Linked DNA regions of Homo sapiens: all the other regions are linked to region 1. Evidence: promoter capture Hi-C in human tissues and cell types (Jung and others, 2019). All regions are on one chromosome and are shown on one strand. The core of a region is centred on a gene start or on the middle of the fragment in contact, and the rest is flanking DNA. Distances in the headings are between cores, read along the strand shown. Region 1 holds the start of ADRB3 (adrenoceptor beta 3). Region 2 overlaps ADGRA2 (adhesion G protein-coupled receptor A2). Region 3 overlaps LSM1 (LSM1 homolog, mRNA degradation associated).

Evidence for each region. The method cuts DNA at HindIII sites, captures the fragments that hold promoters and counts their contacts. A contact is called where the count stands out against the background at its distance.
Region 2: a fragment that was not itself captured here is called in contact with the fragment with the promoter of ADRB3 in region 1 in 1 of the 25 tissues and cell types used here (H1 embryonic stem cells).
Region 3: a contact is called between a fragment that was not itself captured here and the fragment with the promoter of ADRB3 in region 1, in 1 of the 25 tissues and cell types used here (bladder).

What each region holds. Positions count from the first base shown.
Region 1 is chr8:37,964,871-37,968,104 of GRCh38, reverse strand. It overlaps ADRB3 (adrenoceptor beta 3), which reads left to right and starts at 1,506. Exons shown (of 2, transcript NM_000025.3): 1 at 1,506-2,840. The coding sequence starts at 1,636. RefSeq lists an enhancer at 1,773-2,507. The HindIII fragment of the contact is 25,598 bases long and covers 1-3,234 here.
Region 2 is chr8:37,835,012-37,838,108 of GRCh38, reverse strand. ADGRA2 (adhesion G protein-coupled receptor A2) reads right to left here. Exons shown (of 19, transcript NM_032777.10): 12 at 2,711-2,935; 13 at 2,339-2,555; 14 at 170-378. Among named protein-coding and RNA genes, the nearest start is that of BRF2, 13 kb to the left of the region's middle. The HindIII fragment of the contact is 5,878 bases long and covers 1-3,097 here.
Region 3 is chr8:38,170,319-38,173,279 of GRCh38, reverse strand. LSM1 (LSM1 homolog, mRNA degradation associated) reads left to right here. Exons shown (of 4, transcript NM_014462.3): 2 at 1,247-1,315. Among named protein-coding and RNA genes, the nearest start is that of LSM1, 4.7 kb to the left of the region's middle. The HindIII fragment of the contact is 4,514 bases long and covers 1-2,961 here.

The DNA.
Region 1 (3,234 bases), core at 257-2,756:
TGGTGTGATCTCGGCTCACTGCAACCTCTGCCTCCCAGGTTCAAGAGATTCTCCTGCCTCAGCCTCTTGAGTAGCTGGGATTACAGGCATGCGCCACCACACCTGGCTAATTTTTTTTTTTTTTTTTTGTATTTTTAGTAGAGACAGGGTTTCTCCTTGTTGTTCAGGCTGGTCTTGAACTCCTGACCTCAGGTGATCTGCCCACCTCGACCTCCCAAAGTGCTGGGATTACAGGCGTGAGCCACCGCGCCCACCTGTTGATTCATCCATTTTTAATATGTCTTTATAGCAGAAAGATTTTAAGAGAAGGGGCTATCTAGAAAATCTCTAGGTGGAAAGGTGCATGGAAGGGGCAGTGCAGAGTGGGGAAGATGGAGAAATTGAAATTCTTCAGCATCCCAGACTACATAGTGCCAAATCCAAATGCAAATCCAGAGCTAGCAATGAAAAAGACTCCTGGCCGGGCGCGATGGCTCACGCCTGTAATCCCAGCACTTTGGGAGGCCGAGGCGGGCGGATCACGAGGTCAGGAGATCGAGACCATCCTGGCCAACATGGTGAAACCCCGTCTCTACTAAAAATATAAAAATTAGTTGGGCATGCTGGCGGGTGCCTGCAGTCCCAGCTACTTGGGAGGCTGAGGCAGGAGAAGCGCTTGAACCCGGGAGGTGGAGATTGCAGTGAGCAGACATCACATCATTGCACTCCAGCCTCCAGCCTGGGTGACAGAGCGAGACGCCGTCTCAAAAAAAAAAAAAAAAAGAAAAGAAAAAGAAAAAGACTCCTGAGCCTCCTAGTGGTTCACGCCTGCAATTCCAACTACTCAGGAGGCTGGGACAGGAGGGTGGCTTGAGCCCGGGAGTTCAAAGCCAGCCTGGGAAAAATAGAGAGAGAGAGAGACTTGAAATATGGTAAATTTCCTCAGTACCTGAAAATATTAAAAAAAACAAAAAGCTAGAAGGAAAGAGAAGGTAACTGAAACAGAAGGGAAAGGGGACAGATCTCACCAAGCTGAGGTCTTGGGAGAGGAGATACTGGCTGAGCCCTATTACTTAATTTAAAATACCTTAGGGGAGGCCACCCAAGTGGATGCGGGGCTCCTGTGAATCCTTTGCTTGACTCCAGCGGGTTACCTTTGCCTCTGATACATAAAGGGTGGGGATGGGAGCGCTCTCCTCTCTCCTTCCCCTGCCTTGCTGTGGGAACTTCTGGGAAAGGAGGTGCAGGGCTCCAGGAAGCCAGTGCCCAGGGAGTGCTATGCTGAGTCCAGGAGCCTGGCCACGGCAGGGGTGGACAGATGGTGGCAGAGGAACCACGGTGTCCCTTCCTCCAGATTTAGCTAAAGGAAACGTGGAGCATCCCATTGGCCATCCTCCCCACTCTCCAATTCGGCTCCAGAGGCCCCTCCAGACTATAGGCAGCTGCCCCTTTAAGCGTCGCTACTCCTCCCCCAAGAGCGGTGGCACCGAGGGAGTTGGGGTGGGGGGAGGCTGAGCGCTCTGGCTGGGACAGCTAGAGAAGATGGCCCAGGCTGGGGAAGTCGCTCTCATGCCTTGCTGTCCCCTCCCCTGAGCCAGGTGATTTGGGAGACCCCCTCCTTCCTTCTTTCCCTACCGCCCCACGCGCGACCCGGGGATGGCTCCGTGGCCTCACGAGAACAGCTCTCTTGCCCCATGGCCGGACCTCCCCACCCTGGCGCCCAATACCGCCAACACCAGTGGGCTGCCAGGGGTTCCGTGGGAGGCGGCCCTAGCCGGGGCCCTGCTGGCGCTGGCGGTGCTGGCCACCGTGGGAGGCAACCTGCTGGTCATCGTGGCCATCGCCTGGACTCCGAGACTCCAGACCATGACCAACGTGTTCGTGACTTCGCTGGCCGCAGCCGACCTGGTGATGGGACTCCTGGTGGTGCCGCCGGCGGCCACCTTGGCGCTGACTGGCCACTGGCCGTTGGGCGCCACTGGCTGCGAGCTGTGGACCTCGGTGGACGTGCTGTGTGTGACCGCCAGCATCGAAACCCTGTGCGCCCTGGCCGTGGACCGCTACCTGGCTGTGACCAACCCGCTGCGTTACGGCGCACTGGTCACCAAGCGCTGCGCCCGGACAGCTGTGGTCCTGGTGTGGGTCGTGTCGGCCGCGGTGTCGTTTGCGCCCATCATGAGCCAGTGGTGGCGCGTAGGGGCCGACGCCGAGGCGCAGCGCTGCCACTCCAACCCGCGCTGCTGTGCCTTCGCCTCCAACATGCCCTACGTGCTGCTGTCCTCCTCCGTCTCCTTCTACCTTCCTCTTCTCGTGATGCTCTTCGTCTACGCGCGGGTTTTCGTGGTGGCTACGCGCCAGCTGCGCTTGCTGCGCGGGGAGCTGGGCCGCTTTCCGCCCGAGGAGTCTCCGCCGGCGCCGTCGCGCTCTCTGGCCCCGGCCCCGGTGGGGACGTGCGCTCCGCCCGAAGGGGTGCCCGCCTGCGGCCGGCGGCCCGCGCGCCTCCTGCCTCTCCGGGAACACCGGGCCCTGTGCACCTTGGGTCTCATCATGGGCACCTTCACTCTCTGCTGGTTGCCCTTCTTTCTGGCCAACGTGCTGCGCGCCCTGGGGGGCCCCTCTCTAGTCCCGGGCCCGGCTTTCCTTGCCCTGAACTGGCTAGGTTATGCCAATTCTGCCTTCAACCCGCTCATCTACTGCCGCAGCCCGGACTTTCGCAGCGCCTTCCGCCGTCTTCTGTGCCGCTGCGGCCGTCGCCTGCCTCCGGAGCCCTGCGCCGCCGCCCGCCCGGCCCTCTTCCCCTCGGGCGTTCCTGCGGCCCGGAGCAGCCCAGCGCAGCCCAGGCTTTGCCAACGGCTCGACGGGTAGGTAACCGGGGCAGAGGGACCGGCGGCTCAGGGTCGGGAAGCATGCGATGTGTCCGTGGGTCAACTTTTTGAGTGTGGAGTTTATTAAGAGAAGGTGGGATGGCTTTGCTTGGAGAGAAAAGGGAACGAGGAGTAGCGAACCAAAATGGGACCCAGGGTCCTTTTCTTTCCGGATCCAGTCACTAGGGTAGAAGCAAAGGAGGGCGAGCGGGCCGTCGTTCCTCACCCAAGGACCCAAGGTGCGCCACCGGAAAGCGCTGCGGTGTCCCGAGGACTCTCGCCTCGCCTGGTCGGCTTTAGGGATTTTTTTTTTTTTTAAATAGAGACAGGGTTTCGTCTCTGTCGCCCACGCGGGAATGCAGTGGCGCGATCTCAGCTCACTGCAGTCTTG
Region 2 (3,097 bases), core at 403-2,902, 130 kb after region 1:
AGAGGCCAAAGGGCCATTTCCCCACATCCCACCACTCATGGGGCCCAATTAGGGCTGCAGTCCTTTCTGTATTTCTCCATGGTCCCAAATGGTCAGAGTACACCCACCCCCATTTTCCACCCAGCCCGTGTCCCTGCCCCCCCGACTTGTCACCCCTCCTCACACCCACCATGAGCACGGCCACATTGCCCAAGTGCTGGCAGTGCAGGGCGCTGACATTGGGCTGGCTGGAGCGGAGCTGGCAGCCCTCCGAGGTCCAGCCCCCAGCCTCCCCGGGCCCCTCCTGGCTCCACCAAGCGGCCACAGGTTCGGCTCCCTCAGCCCAGTGCCGCAGCGAAACGGCCACTGGCTCTGTCAGGTTTCCCACGCCACAGCCACCTACAGCGGGAGAGGGACGTCCACACAGACACACACAGGGTGTCAGGGAGGTGGGCTCAGCCGGGACTCAGCAGCAGCAGCAGTGACAGGGTGTGTACTAGGCACCTGCCAGGCAGGGCACAGTGCTGGGCTGGGGGCATGCGGTGAGATGCCAAGGACAGCCTCAGTCTAATGGGGGACCCTGGAGGGGGTGGGTGCGGATGATGGTGGAAAATGTGAGCCCTCTGTGGTGGCCCACCCTGAGTGCTGGATGAGCAGTGATGTCATGCTCCATGGTGAGGACTCAGGCTGGCGGGGGCTCAGGGACAAGAACACAGAAATGCAGATGGAGGGAACAGAAGCCAGGCGAAGGGAGGAGGGAGGAGGGAGGCGGGCGGGATGGAGAGAGGACTAGGAGGAGGCGTTCCCAGTGGGAGAGGGGCTCCCGGAGCAGGCCCTGGGCTCCACAGACCCCTCACCCACCCGCCTCAACCCACACACTCCCACAGCCCACGCGGTTGCGGACACAGGGCTTTCACCTTCCTCAGGCCACCTTACTTGTCCTTTAAGTCTTAGTGGTTTTCGGGAAAGGCCTCGCTGGCCTCCAGCTAGGTTGGGTGGTCCCTCATCCCTGTGCCCTCCAAAACACTTCACTGCTTCTCACTTACAACGAGCTGCTCTTCACTGCTGCTCACTTACAACGAGCTGCACTTACAACGACTTGTCCACTGCCTGTCCTCTCTGCTGAAGGGTGTGTTCCTCAAGGACACAGCCGTAACTGTCTGTGCACAGGTGTGTCCCAGCTCAGGCACAGTCTGGCACATACCAGATACTCAGTGAGTGTCCCTGGCCAGAATGCAAGACCTGACAGCAAGAGTCTGTGCTAGGAACAGGATGGAACCCACGGTGGGGTGGCAGTGCCTTCTGGCTGGGCAAAGGGGGTACAGCCACATCGCTAGGACCCTAGAGGGCTCATGGAGGGAGGCAGACGTCCTGATGATGGGAAACAACCCAAGACTTTGAAGGGGCTCTCTGACGTGCAAAGTGCAGTTTGCAGAAGGTGAATCTGGTGACGGCATGAGGGATGGACTGAAGGTGGAGGTGTGGGGGCCAGAGATGGGCTGGTGTCAGCGTGGATGGTGGGAGTAACAGTGGAATCACTGGCAGAAAGAAGGCAGGTGTGGGGTCGCTGGTCCCGGGGGAGAGATGGAACGACAAAAGGGGGACTGCAGGTGATCCATCTGCTTTCTGGGTGCCAGGCCCCCAGGTGGGTGGCGAGTCAGACACTCGGTGTCTCCCACCCACCACACCTCTGCTCATGTTGTTATTCCTCTGCCCTGGTCTCCGCCCTTCCTTGGTGTCTCTGAAAGTCCTGATCATCCCTCAAGGCCCATCTGTGTCAGTCCCACCTCCGCCATGACAGCTGGAGCCATGTTGCCTTTTCAGGATGCTTCTCACCTGGGCTGCCTGTGCAGCAGCTGCCTGGAACCTCTCCTGTGGCTGCCCTGGGAGGTTACTTCACCCTCTACTGCTTAGGTAGCCTCTGGGAGCAGGGACTATGGCCTAGATGTTTTTATTCCTTCCAGCACCAGTGACAGTGCTGTTTCTAGCAGGCACCTATTCAGCATTACTTGTCTGCATTGGGCCTGTGGGGTGTGTGTGTGTGTGTGTGTGTGTGTGTGTGTGTGTGTGTGTGTGTGTGTGTGTGTGTGTTGGAGGGGGCTATGCTCATAGCCCTCTTGAAATTGAACAAATCTGGGATATAGAAGGCAATGTCTTCCTGAGGCTTTTCTCCTCCAGACCCTTTCTTTATGGGGTATCTCTACCCTCTGCCCTGTTGGGAAAAGGTGAGAGACCCAACATCCTGTGTCAGTTCCACTACGGCACTGGGGGGCTGTGGGCCAGGGAAGGGCAGGATAAAGGGGAACAGGGCGGACACACGAGAGGCACCCTGGGCGGGGCGGGGAATTCAGTCCCTTACTGGTTCCTGCGAAGATGACGGGGGTGGCCACGCCACGCCTCTTGCCAGGCCCAGCAGCTCCAGGGCGGGAGGTGTTGCTGTGGCTGTGGAAGAGGCGGCCATTTCGGAAGACGAGCAGTTGCAGGGTGCAGTCTGGGGGCACCGGGGGAGCCAGGGCAGCCGGAAGGGATGAGAATAGACTCGGGGGCAGCTGGATGGAGGCCAGGGCCACGCTGTTCTGGGGGGACATAGGAGCTCCTCAGAGACACCAGGACCCCCTAGAGCACTGATGTCTTGCAGCCCCCTCCTCCCACCTCCTCTCACTGCCCCCACCAGGCACCTGCATCTGAGTGCCTCCCTTCTCCCACCCCCTCTCCCTCCCCCAGCGCCCACCTTGATGTGGAAGGACGACAGAGAAACATTGGGCCTCCCGGTGGTGCAGCGGAAGCGGAGCTGCTGGTCAGCTGGGGGCTCGGGCTCAGGTGGGGGGTTCTGGCCAGGGCTTCCTGGCCGTGTGCCCGGCACCCCTCCCTCCCTCCTCTGGAAGGCTGTGCAGGTCAGGCCCACGTAGCTGTGCGGCTTGATGAGGTAGGCCTCCAATGCCACGTTCCTCGCATTCTGGGGACAGGGACCTTGTCATCCCACCATTTGAGATGGTGGCCTTCTGCTTGGGACTGCACATCTCTCTCAATGGGCCTGCTCAGGCTGTAGTCCTCCCCTTCAATCCTCAGTTTTTTCAAAGCCACCTCTCTCTCTTTTTTTTTTTAGAGGAACAGATTC
Region 3 (2,961 bases), core at 293-2,792, 210 kb before region 1:
TCTCATATAATTAAGATTTGCTTTCTGTGGTACTTATTTATAGCGCAAGGAAGAGTATAAATTCCTTCAGGGCAGAGTCACTGTGTTTTTCCTCTGTTCTGCATCTAGAAAGTACTTTAGGCATGGAATGAAAGAAATTTTGCTGGGTGCGCTAGTAACTGGCTTATTTTCATTCTTCAGTGTCAGCTCAAAGTCACCTCTTCAGAGAGGCTTTCCCTTGCCACCCTTCCTTCTGTAACCACTTCTCTCCCTTCATCATACTGCCTTGCTAGTTTATTATTCCATTGTCCTAATCACAATAGGTTATTTTCTTATTTATTTGTCCTCCTCCAACATGAATATAAATTCATAAGGTTGGTGACTTTCTAAGTCTCATTCTCTACTGTATGTCTAGACCCCAGAACAGCACATGCCCCCTCAGTAAACATTGAATTTCTGCTCTAGCTTATTATTAGTCTTCATTTTAAATGCCTGAAGCATTGTGTTTTTATTTAAAGCCTTCTATGGTTACAAACAAAATGTGAGATAGAAGCTCATCTTTTGAGGACAAAATAATTCTACAAATAAGATAATAGTCATCTAGATTAAATTTGTCAATTTACAGATATAAAAACTGACATGACATGAGATGGTTTAAGTGTCAAACATAAGGGTCTTTGGCTAGGCGCCATGGTTCACGCCTGTAATCCCAGCACTTTGGGAGGTGGAGGTGGATGGATCATCTGAAGTCAGGAGTTTGAGACCAGCCTAGCTAACATGGTGATACACCATCTCTACTAAAAATATGAAAATTAGCCAGGCATGGTGGCAAACTCCTGTAGTCCCAGCTACTAAGGAGGCCGATGCAGGAGGATCGCTTGAACCTGGGAGGCAGAGGTTGTAGTAAGCCGAGATTGTGCCACTGCACTGCAGCCTGGGTGACAGAGTGAGACTCTGTCTCAAAAAAAAAAAAAAAGAAAAAAGGAAAAAAAAAAAACCAACATAAGGGTCTAGAGCCAGCTAGTCAGGCTTCCTGGTGCCACGCCCTGTCCTTTTCCCACTCTGCCACACTGCTCTGATTCTTTTCACTACTGATGTTATCTAAATCCGCGTTGCTGTGCTGCTTTTTTCAGTTTTCCAATGAACTTGAACTTCACATTAAATGCATTGGCCGAGGAAGTGGTACAGCTTAAACTGTTAATTATTATCCTAAATACTCGCTGAACTTGTCAGTTTTCATTTAAAAGATTTTTTCCTCTCTCCCCAGAAAAGCACTTGGTTCTGCTTCGAGATGGAAGGACACTTATAGGCTTTTTAAGAAGCATTGATCAATTTGGTATGTATTAATTTATGGACATCTCTTATACTCTGGATAATAACAGCAGCCCATTGCATTTTTTGTTATTTAATATTGAAATTTATCTGCAACTTTTTCACGTGTGTGACCTAGTAGGACTGATTTTAGTGAGTACATCATTGTTTTCTATACATTCAGATTAGGTGGTTCAAAGCTTATATATATTTCCAAGCTCGTTTCTAAAACTGGCTTTCAGTAGAATCCCCAGTAGGGGGAGCCAAATGATAGAAATAAACTCAGTCCACCGAAGAGGCTTGTTTTGTTTTGTTTTGTTTTTTGTTTAGACGCGCTCTCGGTCACCCAGGCTGGAGTGCAGTGGCACAATCTTGGCTCACTGCAACCTCCGCCTCTTGGGTTCAAGTGATTCTTGTGCCTCAGCCTCCCAAGTAGCTGAGATTATAGGCTCCAGCCACCACCCCCAGCTAATTTTTGTATTTTTAGTAGAGACGGGGTTTCGCCATGTTGGCCAGGCTGGTTTCAAACTCCTGACCTTAGGTGATCCACCCACCCAGCTGAGCTGGGCAGTTGTTCTGCTCCTCATGGTTTTAGGACAGTCCCTTGGTGTCTAGAAGGTGAGTCAGCTGGTTTGAAGGAGCTTCACTCACATGTCTGGTGCATCAGTGGGGACAGCTGGAAGGCTGGTCTTAGCTCCCATAGTGCTGAGATTATAGGCGCGAGCCATTGTGCCCGGCCCAAGGCTGCTTATTTCTACATTGGCAGGGTAAAATGACTTCAAAGCAGTTCCGGAAGTGAAGGTAATCCCTCCCTAGCCAATGAAAATTGGGTAGAAGGCATTTCCTTTATTTTAAGGACCCCAACATTAAGCTTAATACTTTACATATAGGGATACATTGGAATAAGAGGCCTCTGTCTTTGTTTCGCATCCTGCATTTTTCTTAAGTTAAAAGATTATGTTTCCTTCTGTTTCAAGGAACTTCATGTTCATGCTAACATTTATTGGATATCTGCGAAATCACTGGATTTGAGCATGAGGAAGAAACGTAATTAAAACACTTAAAAGGATTATGGAAGATATGAACATAGATTTCTCCTTTACTTCAAATAGGACAAGTAGTACTAATTGAAAGAGGAAAAATAATTATTGTTAACAAATTGGAGTCCTGATTCTTAAGTCAGATTCATCAGAGTACTTTGAGGGAAGGGTAGTGGCTATTAAGTTGACTTTTAGATTACAAATATAGTTATCTGTCAAGGTGAAAAAATAGGTTTTTGCTGTATCATAACCCATGGATACCTGCGTTGGGTCAAATGAATCCTAATTACTAAAAGAAAGTTGAATCTTCAGCAGATCATCACATACACACCCACACAAAAAGAAAAGCTGTTTCTTTCCAGAAAACAAAAGTTTTGATCTCTGTGGTTGTTTAGGCCCAAGTTTTCCAAGTTCCTTATTCATTTATATTTTCCTATGGTTTTTTTTGGTATTAGCAATTAACTGATAAAGGAATTTATTTCTCTTATTTCTGCTGTCATTCATGTATTAGCCCAACATAATCCCAGACATCTCCTAACTGGTACGTCTTACTCAATGAAATAGGAGAAGATTATTTGAAATTTTAGCCTTCCCCAGAATTAGAAAGCTTGGGGGCCCGGCACTGTGGCTC